5 separate regions of the Homo sapiens genome follow, and regions 2, 3, 4 and 5 are each linked to region 1. The links are contacts of gene promoters, found by promoter capture Hi-C in blood cells and fetal thymus (Javierre and others, 2016). All regions are on one chromosome and are shown on one strand. Each heading gives the region's core, a stretch centred on a gene start or on the middle of the fragment in contact. The rest is flanking DNA. Distances are from core to core; before and after follow the strand shown. Region 1 holds the start of TMEM65 (transmembrane protein 65). Region 2 overlaps FAM91A1 (family with sequence similarity 91 member A1). Region 3 has its middle 15 kb from the start of FER1L6. Region 4 has its middle 34 kb from the start of FER1L6. Region 5 overlaps FAM91A1 (family with sequence similarity 91 member A1).

Evidence for each region. The method cuts DNA at HindIII sites, captures the fragments that hold promoters and counts their contacts. A CHiCAGO score of 5 or more calls a contact.
Region 2: a contact is called between a fragment that was not itself captured here and the fragment with the promoter of TMEM65 in region 1, in 1 of 17 cell types (neutrophils). The highest score is 5.1, in neutrophils.
Region 3: a fragment that was not itself captured here is called in contact with the fragment with the promoter of TMEM65 in region 1 in 1 of 17 cell types (M0 macrophages); the score reaches 6.1 in M0 macrophages.
Region 4: a contact is called between a fragment that was not itself captured here and the fragment with the promoter of TMEM65 in region 1, in 11 of 17 cell types (M2 macrophages, naive CD4 T cells, total B cells and 8 more). The highest score is 9.6, in M2 macrophages.
Region 5: a fragment that was not itself captured here is called in contact with the fragment with the promoter of TMEM65 in region 1 in 2 of 17 cell types (naive CD4 T cells and activated CD4 T cells); the score reaches 5.3 in naive CD4 T cells.

The regions. Positions count from the first base shown.
Region 1 is chr8:124,371,276-124,373,975 of GRCh38, reverse strand. It overlaps TMEM65 (transmembrane protein 65), which reads left to right and starts at 1,275. Exons shown (of 7, transcript NM_194291.3): 1 at 1,275-2,122. The coding sequence starts at 1,819. RefSeq lists enhancers at 713-902, 1,114-1,408 and silencers at 1,133-1,362, 1,483-1,752, 1,883-2,012, 2,063-2,192, 2,203-2,252. The HindIII fragment of the contact is 4,556 bases long and covers 119-2,700 here.
Region 2 is chr8:123,779,004-123,781,703 of GRCh38, reverse strand. It overlaps FAM91A1 (family with sequence similarity 91 member A1), which reads right to left. Exons shown (of 24, transcript NM_144963.4): 7 at 1,629-1,719; 8 at 1,162-1,224. Among named protein-coding and RNA genes, the nearest start is that of FAM91A1, 12 kb to the right of the region's middle. The HindIII fragment of the contact is 2,784 bases long and covers 1-2,689 here.
Region 3 is chr8:123,835,455-123,838,154 of GRCh38, reverse strand. No RefSeq gene overlaps it. Among named protein-coding and RNA genes, the nearest start is that of FER1L6, 15 kb to the left of the region's middle. The HindIII fragment of the contact is 7,253 bases long and covers 1-2,700 here.
Region 4 is chr8:123,816,446-123,819,145 of GRCh38, reverse strand. No RefSeq gene overlaps it. Among named protein-coding and RNA genes, the nearest start is that of FER1L6, 34 kb to the left of the region's middle. The HindIII fragment of the contact is 988 bases long and covers 776-1,763 here.
Region 5 is chr8:123,800,292-123,802,991 of GRCh38, reverse strand. All of the region lies in intron 18 of FAM91A1 (family with sequence similarity 91 member A1), which reads right to left. Among named protein-coding and RNA genes, the nearest start is that of FAM91A1, 33 kb to the right of the region's middle. The HindIII fragment of the contact is 4,877 bases long and covers 1-2,700 here.

The sequences.
Region 1 (2,700 bases), core at 26-2,525:
TTCATTTCCACAGAGAGCATTCTTAATTGTTGTTATTACATCACAGAGGCATCACCTTGGAATTTAAAAAAGAAGCGATTCCTTTCAATGTTTAAGAGACATCAGTGTTTCTCAAGCTTTCGTGTGTGTTATTACTGGAGGGCTTGTTAAAACCCACATGACTGGGTCCAATGTCTACGTTCTGATTCAGGAGGTGTGAAGTGGGGTCCACTATTTCTCACGTCTAAAAAGCTCTGGGACACACTTTGAGAACCAGAGTTAGAGAAGTAGGAGGCTTTAGTGGTAACAATCCTCCATTATTCAGTTTAATATTCTACTTACATGTAGCACATTTACTACCTACAAGTTTCCGGGCTGAGTGCAGCACTGTTTATGATAAGGATGGGATTTAGATCTTGATTACGCTCCAGCAGATTTATTAAGTGGATTTATTCTCTAAGGGTGCCTAAGCGTCATTAGACAGGTTCAGATAAAGCAGAGATCTCCTCCCTTAGAAGAGATTAGGGACAGCTTAATGAAGTAGGAGACCTTTCACCTGGGCCTTGAAAGATGCCTAGGACCTGGATCAGGGGAAATCGTGGACAATCAAATTATTCTTCCCGCTTTAGCACAGAGACAAAAAAATCACAAGCAACCACTAGGAAAGGTCTATGACATTCTTGCCTCTGCCTCTAGCATTAACAATTTGCATGCCAGCTGCTGGAATCTGAACGGGGAGGACTGTTCTCGTGTCAAGGGCTCAGTCTCAGACCCTCCTTGGGCAGGGGTGGAACTGGCTTCGCTTTCTCTTTGGGGCGCCCAGAGCGACTGCATTAGAGCCGGCCTGCTCGGCCGAAGCGGCGGTGGGCGCTGACTTGGCGAAGGGCGCAGCTGGGGCGCTTCGTTCCGGAGCAGAGCGCCGTGATCCCGTCGGGGCTGGGGTGGCAGCGCAGCTCTCCGCCTGTCCAGAGCGGGGCCGCACGCCGGGGCACCTTTCAGAACAAGCTCCAGATGTGGCCCCAGGTTGGGGGCCGGGTGGCAGCTGTACTACCCTGGCGGGCGAGGGGTCCAGAGCTCGTTTTCCCTATTCCGATCTGTAGGTTTAACGCCAGCACAGGGTGGCGCACCCTACCTCCTTCCACCTTCACGCACCAGCGCGGGAGGGGACGCGTGTGCACGCTCCTCCCCTAGGAGGGAGGGCGGCCCGAGAGCCTGCAGACTGCGCCTGCGCAGCCTCGCTCACACACCTCCCCGCCCCCCCGCACCTCCTTCCCCTTTCGCCCCGCCCCGTTCCCACTTCTGCTGCCGCTAGGGGTAGCGGCGGCGGCGGCGGCTGCGGCTCGGGAGCGCGGCTGCTTTGAGGGCTCGGGAACCTTACAGAGTGGGGACGTGGGGAGGCTAGAGGGTGAGAAAGCTGGCGGGAGAGTAGGGCGGCGCTGGAGGAGGGCGGTGCGTGGCTGACTCATCCTCTGGAAGATCAGACTGACAGAGACACACACTAGCCCGCCCCGCCCGCCCGCGCCGCTCCTCCTCAGCCGGGAGGCGCCCGCCCGCACCGACCGCCCGCCCTCTCCGGGCGCTGTCCGGGCCCGGCCGTCTCAGAGAAAGTTTTTCCCATCGGAGGGGCGGGAGCCGCCGCGGGCCTTTTGGAAAGGAAGTGGGGACGGAACAGGAGGCGAGAGCCGCGCGGGCCCGCGGAGTGCATGGTGCCCGGCGCCTCGGCTGCCTGGCAGGAGGACCTCGGGGCGGGGTCGAGCTGAGCCCAGCTCCTTCTCGCCTCAGCCGCGCCAGAAACCGCCTTGCCGGACGGCCGCGGGGGTCCCAGCTCCTCAGCTCGCCATGTCCCGGCTGCTGCCGCTGCTGAGGAGCCGGACCGCGCGCAGCCTGAGGCCGGGCCCGGCCGCCGCCGCCGCGCCCCGCCCGCCGTCCTGGTGCTGCTGCGGGCGGGGGCTGCTGGCGCTCGCGCCCCCCGGCGGCTTGCCGGGCGGCCCCAGGCGGCTGGGCACGCACCCCAAGAAGGAGCCCATGGAGGCGCTGAACACGGCGCAGGGCGCGCGCGACTTCATCTACAGCCTGCACTCCACGGAGAGGAGCTGCCTGCTCAAAGAGCTGCACCGCTTCGAGTCTATTGCCATTGCCCAAGGTAAGGGGGGCAGGTGGGGGGCGAGCCCGGGGGCCCCGACGCCCTCCTCTTCTCGCCAGCCCACCGGGAGCCCGCTGCGGCCCTGGATCTTGGACCCCCGCCGCCGCCCCCCTTCCGCCCCCCTCGCCTGTCTGGCCCCACGCCTGGGACGGCTGGGGGCGGGGAGACTTTCCGCCGCCCGAGTTTCCCCCAGGCAGGTAGGACGGGCGCGGGTCGTGCCAGGCAGCCGAGGCCAGCGCTAGCTACTTCCTCCCCAGCCTCCGAATCCGGAGCTTCGGCCTAAAATGCCAGTTAACGCTGTTGGGATTGAGTTTTGATTTGCCCCGTGCCTCCCCTCCCCAGCCCTCCTGTCCCTTAGCCCTTGCTGCTTTCTTGCGAGCGTGCACCCGTGCAGGTGGCATGCTGTGCCTGCTCCGAGAAAGTGCTGCAAACCCGCCTGGCAGGAAGAAACTTTTTGAACGGTTATCAAATGAAGACGTATGGGTGGGTAGCCAAAAGAAGGGGTGTAGCTTCGAAAGTCAGGGATGCTCATAGCTGCTTGTTTCCACACATGTCTGATTGCGTTAATTTCAGCAGCC
Region 2 (2,700 bases), core at 48-2,547, 590 kb after region 1:
AGACTGGCCTGGCCAAAATGGTGAAACCCTGTCTCTATGGGTTTTACCTGTAGAGTAAATTAGCCAGACGTGATGGTGGGTGCCTATAATCCCAGCTATTCGGGAGACTGAGGCAGGAGAATCGCTTGAACCCAGGAGGCAGAGGTTGCAGTGAGCCAAAATCATGCCACTGCACTCCAGCCTGGGCGATAGAGCTAGAATCCGTCTCAAAAAAAAAAAAAAAAAAAAATTCACATATGCACAAGGTTTAAAATGTGTTATTAAAGAATCACAAACATATGCCAACCCAAAGGTCTGGACACGCTACAGCATGATATCTTGTCAAGATTCAACACTGATATAAAGAAGTATTTCTGTAATAAGCCCTATCACCACTAATTTGTTAATATTAGGGTCATTCTCTGAAATTTTTTGACACTTTATATTTGATTACACAAATATTCAATATCTAAGTATAATAAAACACAAGAACAATAGTTAAAAGATATGCCACAAGACATACTTGTAACATATAACCTGAACATAGTAAGTGCTTCTATAAATTGGTAAGAAATCTAACCTATAGAAAAAAAAGCATCACTCTGTATTCAAGGATATTGAACATATCAGTATTGTAGTGGCAAAAAAACTGGAAATAATCTAAATTACCAGAAATACAAAATGGTTTAATAAATTGATACATCCATAAAGTGTATGACAAATATACAAGGCTCCTAATATTGGTTTAACTTGGAGAAGTAGGTAAAGGAAGAAGGGAAAAGGAAATAGACAAAAAGACTACAGTAACATGAAAAAATAATGCACCAGTATGTTAAGTGAAAATGAGAACATACAATTCTATGAGATTACTGAACACATGTAAAAACAGCTACACACTGAACAAGGATTAAAAGGTAACAAAAATTTATAAAAATATTGATTTGATTTGGGATTGTTAGAAATTTACCTTGGGTTTCTATTATTTTAGTGTAGTATGTACACCAAATACAAAAATGAGAATAAAGAATTTAAGTAAAACCAATGTACTATGTTAAAATGTAATAACGAAGCAATATTTTTCTTGAAATATCCTAACATCTAAGATCCTAGAACGGATGATATGCAATGCTTAGCACCTGATATCCATTCAAAAAACAGTGAAAAATGTTAGCACGGACTTACCTGCTATACAACTGTCATCAGATATTGGTACATCCAGATAAATAAATCCTTTGTTATACAAACCTGAAGAAACAAAAGTACCTTGTTTTAGATGGAACACTACACAACAGTGATTTTTTTAAAAAAACTAATTCCTGGCTTTCTGTAAAGATTCTTACAAATGAATGCTATGTGACGAAAGAAAAAGTAAAATAGAAGAGAAAAAGAATTAAAGTTTTTAAATCTCGGTTTCCTGCATATACTCTGAAGTACAAAATTTTTCTTATCATTCAGTTGCATAAATTTCTAGTGTATGTGACTAATTATAGCCACACTGGAAAACAAAAGACTAAGGTCACATTTCAAACAATAACATGCCTTAGAAACTAGTACTATTTGTACCTACTTGATAAGTAATTGCTAGTAATTATTGATGGTTTAAAACAAGTTTTTATGTTGACAAAAGACCATTTCTACTAACCACTTACTATGTACTACATTGTAATCTAGTGATCCAGAGAGTTGAGGGCCTGAATCGATGATCTTATCAACAGCGCATTTCTCAGGCAAAGTGCATATCTAAGAAAAGCAAAATATTTTTAATTAAGTTCTGTCCAAATTAACTAATTCACAAGTCTCCTGAAATTTATTTATGTTGAAACCAGTGATTACATGTCATTAGCTCAATGAACTACATATTTATCACTCTATAATTCAAACAAAAAACTGTGCACATAGCCATCAATTAAGGTGCCAAAATATGCAACATACCAACAGAATGTAGAGAACAAACTTACTGTAAGTACCAACATTTGCTAGTTAGTAATATTTGTTCCTTGTGATTGAATTGGAATTAGATCCATCTGCCAATTCAGAATCTCTCTAGCCAGAAATTTAGTCAAACTCTACATGAATATTGTCAGTAACAGGAAAGTTCACTAGCTTATTATGATACAGTTTGAGAGTTCCATTAAGAGGTACTTTAGACTGAAGTAAAATTTCTAAGCCTTCCACTCAATGGATTTAGTACGTACCCTGGAGAAAATTAAATGCAGACCAAAAAGAAGCCCACATACTCATTTCCATTGCTTCAGCTACGCATAAATACAACCTGGTCTCTAGGTGCCCTCATTACTCCACCCCTTTCCTCTAAACCAATATCCCTTCTAAGATGTGGTCTGACCACTGGGAATATCAACTCTCTTGATCTTGACACTATCGCCCCATAAAAGCACCTATCACTTCAGTACAACAGTTCTTTGCAGTGATTAAGAGTACAAGTTTCATGGTGAACTGCCAAAAAATCCTGGACCTTTACTACCACTAAGACATGAGCTGTTACTTAATTGTTCTGTGCTCACTTTCCTCATCTGTGAAATGGGGGTACAAATAATACATACCTCTGGGGCTGTTATGAGAATTAAGTAAGACAATATAAAAAGCACTTGTAATAGAGCTTGGCACATCTAGCACACAGCAGGTATTCAAAAGTGTTAGCCAGTATTATTGTTGTAGGTAGCTGTGGCATCATGTTACTTTACACGAAGCTTCTATCTAATT
Region 3 (2,700 bases), core at 64-2,563, 540 kb after region 1:
CATTCTCATTCCAGCTAATGGGAACAGGAAATGGGGATGAATGGAGCATAGGTCTCCTTTTGAGGACATAACCCACAAGATGCTAGGTAAATTCTGCTTGCTTTCATTGGCCAGAATTTAGTCACCTGGCCACACCTGGCTACAGAGGAGGCTGGAGAAAATGTAGTCTTTATTCTGAGAAGCCATGTACCCAGCTGAAAACTAAATAGCTACAGAAGCCAGGAAAAGTGGCTATTGATGGACAAATAGCAGTCTCTGCCACATGAGTAAAGACATGGGGTGGCATTCAGGGATGGAGAAGATTCCAGATCACTGCAGATTGAAACAGAGTGGTTTTCTAAGGACATCTGTCCCAGTATACATAACTCTAAAGCACCACTAACTGCTGGGGCGCCATTTTTTCTCTAGAAATTTGGAACATGTCCCAACACAAACACATGGTCCTTATGTCAGAAATACAGAGTGACAGACTCCATTATGCATTAGTCATGTTTATAAACAGGTTTATTTTTTTTTCAGACCACGTCAAAATATCTCTTGCTCAAAACAGTTCTAAAGTGTCCTATTATCTCAGGCATTTCCTTTGTTGCATGAGAGTTCCATGAACACTTGGAGCCAGACAGAATAGTTCTGGAGTCTCAGACTCAAGTCAGGAATTGCATGGCTTTCATGGCAGCCAGAAAAGCTCAGCGGGGCTGGGTCTCGTGTCATTTACTTCAGCTCTGGTGGTGTGAACTAGTTTGGGATTCTCTGAAGTGCTTCGAACCCAACATTTCCCCCACACTCCTGAGCTACCTACCAGTCACAGCAGCTGTATAAGGTCTCTGAACCTCTGCAGAGGCCACATCAGCTGCAGCAAAGACCCCTGGTGCTGTGCCCTCCACCTCCTGCCCTCAAAAATCAGTCAGGCTTAAAACAGTGCCAGGCGCATGGTGAGCATCGTATAAACAATCGCTATGGTTATTATGGTTTTTATTATGACCACTGCTTCCTGAAGAATCTTTAGAGTTTGATTGTGAGTTGCATAAGGGCATAAATTATCTTTTCTCACTCCTTCCTCCTCAGCATCTAATATGGTTCAGGTCTCATATCCAACTCTATTCAACCTATATATATTAAGCCTCTACTATGTGCTAAGTACCAAGCTGGGTAATGGGACATAGTGATGAATAAAAGCCTTGATTTGTGTTGTTACAGAACTTAGAGTTCAGCAGGAGATATTTGTGGAAGGAAAATAACAAAGAGAAGGAAGCGGGGAAGGATGAAATGGAAGAATAAAGGAAAACTTGATTTTTGACTATAAGGGCAGGGAATATCACAGGTATTAAGCAAAGGTATGAAAGTTAAGCGTGGAGAAATTAAAATGCACCTTGACCCCAGGCCACCTTGAAAGCTCTTCTGAGAGAGCCCAGCTCTGGCCCACTGTCCATCAGTGCAGCTTTAGCAAAAATACATCGAGCTACTACTCCTCCTTGCCCCGAGAGCCCAAATGGTTTGAGTGGAAAAGCAGCCCAGCATAAGTACCTGGATGAGGATTAGACCTAAAGCAACCAGAGCCCTGCAGAATAGGAGGAGCAAAAGGCCAGTATTTTACCATAAGAAACACAGAGGTCCAAATATATCCACAGTTCCCTTGTGTCCCGAAAGTCAAGTCAAGTGATTATAGATATGCATATTCCTCCAGCAGTAAATAATACATCAATAAACAAAGGTGAGAGTGGCTCAAAGCAGGTCATTTTTGGGAAGGGACATAGGGTCATCACGTGGGAGGGTATGTTTGGTTAGAGATGAGTAACTGCTGTGATAAGCAATCCCAAAACCTCAGTGGCACAGTCATAGCCCAGTAAGCATTGATAAACACAACAGTGCCTATCTTCATGGAGCTTACCATTTAGCTAGAACTACAAACAAATGAGCATTCACATTTCATTGTGTTCAGTGCTCTCATAGTATATATACAGAATGCTCTGAGCTTACAGAGAAGGGCTCCTAACTCCAACTTGGAGTGATTAAGGAAGGTGTCCTGAGCATCATTTGCCCTGTCTATCTGGTCCCACCCATCGTAAGGTGATTTTCTTCATCTCTCACTTCCATGTTTGTTACAGGTGTAGCCAATTTTTCTAACATGGCCAGCCACAAGTGGTGGCATAACCATAATCCCCTTCCTTAGGAATATGGGAATTAGGATAGAGACAAATCAGGCTCTCTCTCGGTAGATGAGCCTGTAATATGTAAGCCTTGGGAGTGGTTGGGGAAGCAGAGGAAACAAGTTTGGAGGGAGAAGAATCGAACAGGCATACAGAGAGGAGGAAGATTGGAGAACCCTGATCCTAGTTGTCTCTGAGGCTTAATTCCGTCTCTGTTCTCCAGTTCCATCAGAACCCCAGGGTCTTTATAATAAATGCCCTCTCTTTTTAAAAAATGAAATAAAGCCGGTTCCTCTTACAACCAACCAAGACTTCTAATGAATACAAATGCTGAGGACTCGCATCTTAGCGAAGACCTGATGGGGCAGGAGTGGAGAGCCCAGTGATGAGAGGCAGATGGTAACACGAGGCTGAATGACATGTACCTCATAGAAAGATGTTCATAATGTGATTTTAAGTGAAAAAAAAAGCCAAATGCATATAGCATAATAGTATTTATAAAGTAAACCAACCAAAGGAAAAAACAACTTTATGCGCTCAACGAAATTTTGGG
Region 4 (2,700 bases), core at 20-2,519, 550 kb after region 1:
GGTTTAAGATTTTCTTCTGACTCAGTTTATAGAGTTCTGGCAGGCAGGAGGTTTCATTTTTATTTAGTAATAATTACCAGTTTTCTTTTAAATCTTCTGGGATTGGTGTCATCCTTTAAAAAGTCTTTATGCCAAATGTATGGAAAAAAAATCACCTGTTTCCACTTTTATGTTAATATTTTAAAATATTTAAACCTTGATCCCTCTTAAGTTTTTGGTATGAGGATTGAGGCAGAATTCCGCCCCCCTATATTTTTTCCAAATATCTGCCAGTTATCCCCAAATCAGTTACTAAATGATCCACGGACATTCCTGGATACTAATCTGAAATGCCACATTCAGATTCTTGTGTATTAAGTTCTATTTTTTAGTTTTCTGTCTGTATCTGAATAATCTGTCTGTATCTGAATTAGTACCATACTGTTTAATTACTTTAGGCTTATAATACATTTGATTACGCCTGCTGGGATAGATATTTTTAGATTTTTTTACCTTTAAGTCTCCACTGTTTCTTCTTCCAGGTTCAGCTTTAGAATCACTTTGCCAAGTTCCAAAATTTAAAGACGAAAACAAAACAAAACAAAAACTCACTGGTATTCTGAAGGAAATTGTGCTTAATTCATAATATATTTAGGGGGAATTGGTAACTTGACAATATTGAGGCTGCCTATCCAAGAACAGTTATGATTTTCCGTACATTCAGGTTTTCTTTTCTGTCCTTCAGGAGTGCTTTAAGGTGTTCCTCAAGGGTATCTTGCAAATTTCTCACTAAGCTTCTTGTCAGGTGCTGTGATCCGACTGTGTCCCCCCAAAATTCATATGTTGAAACTGTAACCCTCAACTTGATGGTATTAGGAGGTGGGGCCTTCAGAAGGTGATTAGGTCATGAGGGCAGAGCTCTAATGAGTGAGATGGGTGCTCTTAGGAAAGAGGCTTGAGGGAGCTCATTTGACCCCTCCACCCCGTGAGGACACATTGAGGAGATGGCCACCTATGAACTGGGAAACAGGACCCTCTTGTTTCAGACTCTGCCAGAGCCTTGACCATGGACTTCCTAGCCTCCAGAACTGTGAGAGAGAAATGTTTGTTGCTTCTAAGCAGCTGTGGACTTTTGTCTACCTGAACTAAACTGAACAAACTAAGACATCCAGTATTTCACTTTATTTTATATTTATGCATGGGTACATATTTATTGAGGTTTTTGTTCTTAGTATTAAGAAAGATCTTTTACTTTATATTTATACATAATTTTTGCTACTAAGGTAGCTCTTTTCTTTCCTTATATCAATATAACTGGTTGTTGATTACAGATAAGAAAGCTACTTACTGAAGTCTGTTTCTAATGTTTCAGGTAACTTTTGCATCTTCCTAGTATATAAGTATCTGAAAAATTATAATTTTTCCCCATCCTTTTAAATGTGACTACCTCTTATTCTTTTGCCTAATTTCATTAGCTACTAATTCCAATGTTACATGCCTAATAATGGTTTGGTGGGGATACTTGTGCTGTTTATGTCCTGGGAGACTATTGCTTCCAGAAATTCAGAGTTAAAAATGATTCTGCATTGTTTATAGAATAAACTATGTGGTATCCAAGTTTTGCCTTAAAATAATCTAGTGGTGGGGGAAATAGTATCGTTGTGTGTGTGTGTATATTTACACACACACATATATACATATATAAGTGGTCTTTGTTTTGTATATATGCAATGAGGGGCTAAACATGAATCACTGTGGAAACTGGGTGATGGGTGCATGAAGCTTCACTATACTATTCTCCCTTCTTTTGTATATGTTCCCTAACAAAAAGAAATAAAAACATAATGAGGCTGGGAGGATTTCTGCTTTGAAAATGTTTAAGAACTTTCTGCTCTTCTCCTCTTGGCAACCACCCACTAAAACCACAAGGAGAATGAGAAACAGAAACAATCAGTGATAAAACTATGAGGGGTTTGTAACCCAAACCACAGGACACGAAGACAGAAAGCAGATACTTGGAACTGGAAGATGGCTTTGCAGAGCAGAGGAAGAGGAATTTATCAGAAAATAAGAGTTCATTATTAAGAGCATTTAATCCCCTAAATACCACCTCTTTCCCCATCCAGCTAGGATACTAAGGGAAAGCTGAACCAGAGAGGCTGAAATGGAGTGAGGCACAGGACTGGAAAGAGAATAATGACATGCAGGCTTGGGTACAGACTGTGGAGACTTCACTTCCCTCCCCAGATCCCAGAATTTCGTAGCTGTACTTAGAATGCCTAGAAAAGGAAGCTGAAGGCTCCCTCCTTGATGTCTCCCTTAACCTAGGAACAGCACAAATATCCCACATTGTACCATTATTACTGACATGTAACATTGCCTGGACCCATAGAACACCTGCAGATCCTAACAGCTGGGAGCACTAGAAACTAGAAAATATTGTAACCATCCATTAAATGGATGTTATAATTTTAAAAGAACATAGTTATAGCTTAAATGTTTTCACTTCTGAAATGTATCTAAATATCTATATGTAAACGTAACACAATCATTTGTTCATTCTTCTGTTTTAAATTTTTAATTGATTTTTTAGAGCTGAGGTCTCGCTATGTTGCCCAGGCTGGACTCAAACTCCTGGGCACAAAGGAGTTCTATCTTCAGCCTCCTGAGTAGCTGGGACTACAGGTGTATGCCATCATACCTGGTCTCATTCTCCTTTCT
Region 5 (2,700 bases), core at 150-2,649, 570 kb after region 1:
CGTGGAATCACCCACTGTTCCTTCACTCTACTTCTACTGCCACTACCAACACAATAACGTTTTCTGAGATCTTCCTATGTGCTAAACACAGTGCTCAAGTCATTCTTTTCAAAAACTTTAAAAAGATGGGAACTTTATCTCCAGTTTATAGGTAAAGACACTAAAGTTCAAAAAGGTATTTAACTTGTCTAAGATTACTAGTAAATGATGGAACCAAGATCTGAGTTTAGGCAGTCTGACTTAAGTCCATGTCTAGCCCATTCTATGATGCTATCTCCCACGACCACCCCATACTATATATCTTCCCTGGCTAATTTCATCCTCTCATGGTTTCAACTACCATCTACCACCTGATGCTGACACTTAATCACTCTTGTCTAACCTCTCATTTGAATTTCAGAATATTTCCAATTACCACAGGCACCATATAAACACAACACATCATCTGCCCCATAAATGTGCTCTTCCTCCCGTGTTCCCCAGAGTAGTGGTATCACCACCTCCCATGATATCACTTCCTCCCGTGTTCCCTAGAGTAGTGATATCACCACCTCCTGTGATGTCACTTCCTCCTATGTTCCCTACAGTAGTGGTATCACCACCCTTCTACCTTCACAAGTCAAATACCCCAGAATCTTTCTTCCCTCTTCCCATCTCTCTCAGATATCTGATCAATTCTATTAATTGTATATTTGTAGTAGTTCTTAAATCCATTTTTCCTTTCAATTCTTATTACCATGTCCTTGATCCGGGCTATCTTTATCTCTTATCTAAACTACTACACACAGTCCTAACTGGTCTTCTTGCTTCAGGTGTCTCCCCACTCCCTCCCATTCTCAATATCATCCCAAGGTTGATTCCTGAAACAAATTTGACCATGTTAATCCCTGTTACCCCCCTGTAATTGCTACCATCAATCTACAGGTCAACTTCTCAGTTCCACGGCAGGACACTCAAGGCAGGCGGCACTGCAGGGCCAGCCTACTTCTCCAGACTTGTCTCTGACCACAACCCCCTCACACTCCAACTCACCCCTCAAAAACACTGAACAGCTTATTGACCCTGGCATGTTATGTCACTTCATATTCTTATTTATTTATTCCACAAACACTAACTGGACAACTACTATGACCCAAGCACCGTGCTGGGCACTAGAAAAATAGCAGCAAAGAAAAAAGAAAAAAAAAAAAATCCTTGCCCAGAGATTTAATCATGCTGACCCCTACTACCTCGCTTCTTTTAAGTCATCCTTTTGTATTCAGCCTGGGTCTCACTTTCTCTAAGGAACCTCCCCTAAGCCCTTCTCCTTGCCCCAAGGCTGGACTGGATAGTTCTTTTTAAGTCTTCCACTATATGTAATTCTATTCGATAAACTGAAACTGAGTGCTTATGCAGCTTTTCCCACCATCCTTAAATTCCTTGAAGATGAGGGGCCCTGTCTTATTTGCATATTGATATTAATTAGCGCAAAATATGCACATTCAATTGTTAGATGAACTGACGAAATCTTTACGGAGAACCTATTATGTGCCAGCAAGTGTGCTACACATTTGACACGTACATTTTCATTTCATTCTCTCAATTCTATGAGCATAAACTGCTTACCTTACCACTAGTTGCCATTATTATAAGTGTTTGTTATTATACAATAGATATTGCCATCTCCATTTTATAGGTGGGAAATAAAGTATAAGGTTTATCATGAAAATGTCACACAGCCCAATAAGCACATGCAAAGAAGCTCAACATTATTAGTCTTCGGGAAAATGTAAATCAAAACTATAATGAGATACCATTCCACACCTCCTAAGGTGGTTATCATCAAAAAGCCACATAATATCAAGTGCCCGTGAGAATGTAAAATGATGCAGCCACTTTGCAAGACAGTCTGGCAGTTCCTTAAATGCTTAAACATGGAATTACCATATGACCCAGTAATTCCATCCCTATACATATATAGCCAAGAGAAATAAAAACATATGTCCACAGAAAAACTTGTACACAAATGTTTATGACAGCATTCTTCATAATGGCCAAAAGGTGAAAACAACCCACATGTCCATCAACTGATGGAGGAATAAACAAAATGTGGCATATCCATAAAATGGAACATTATTTGGCCTCAAAAAGGAATGAAGTATTGATACTATGACAACATGATGAACCTTGAAAACATTATGTTAAATGAAGGAAGCCAGTCACAAAAGACCACATATTATATATGATTCCATTCACATAAATGCCCAGATTCGGCAAATCTATAGAGACAACAAGTAGATTAGTGTTGCTTAAGACTAGAGGGAAGGAGATGAGTAGCGGGGAGAAAATAGAAGAGTGATCACTAAAGGATACAAGGTTTCTTTTTAAGGTAATGAAATGTTCTAAAATTGAGTGTGGTGATGGCTGTACATATCTGTGAACACACTAAAACCCACTTAACTGCACAATTTAAATTGGTGAATTGTACAGTATGTGAATTATATACTCAATACAATAGTCCCCTTTTATGTGAGGTTTTGCTTTCCATGGTTTTAGTTATCATCTGTGGTCAACCAAGGTCTGAAAATAGGTGAGTATAGTATAACGAGGTATTTTGAGAGAGACCACATTCATATAACTTATATTACAGTATGCTATTTTCTTATTAGTAATTGTTGTTAATCTCTAGTAAGAGATGTCTAATTTATAAATGAAACTTTA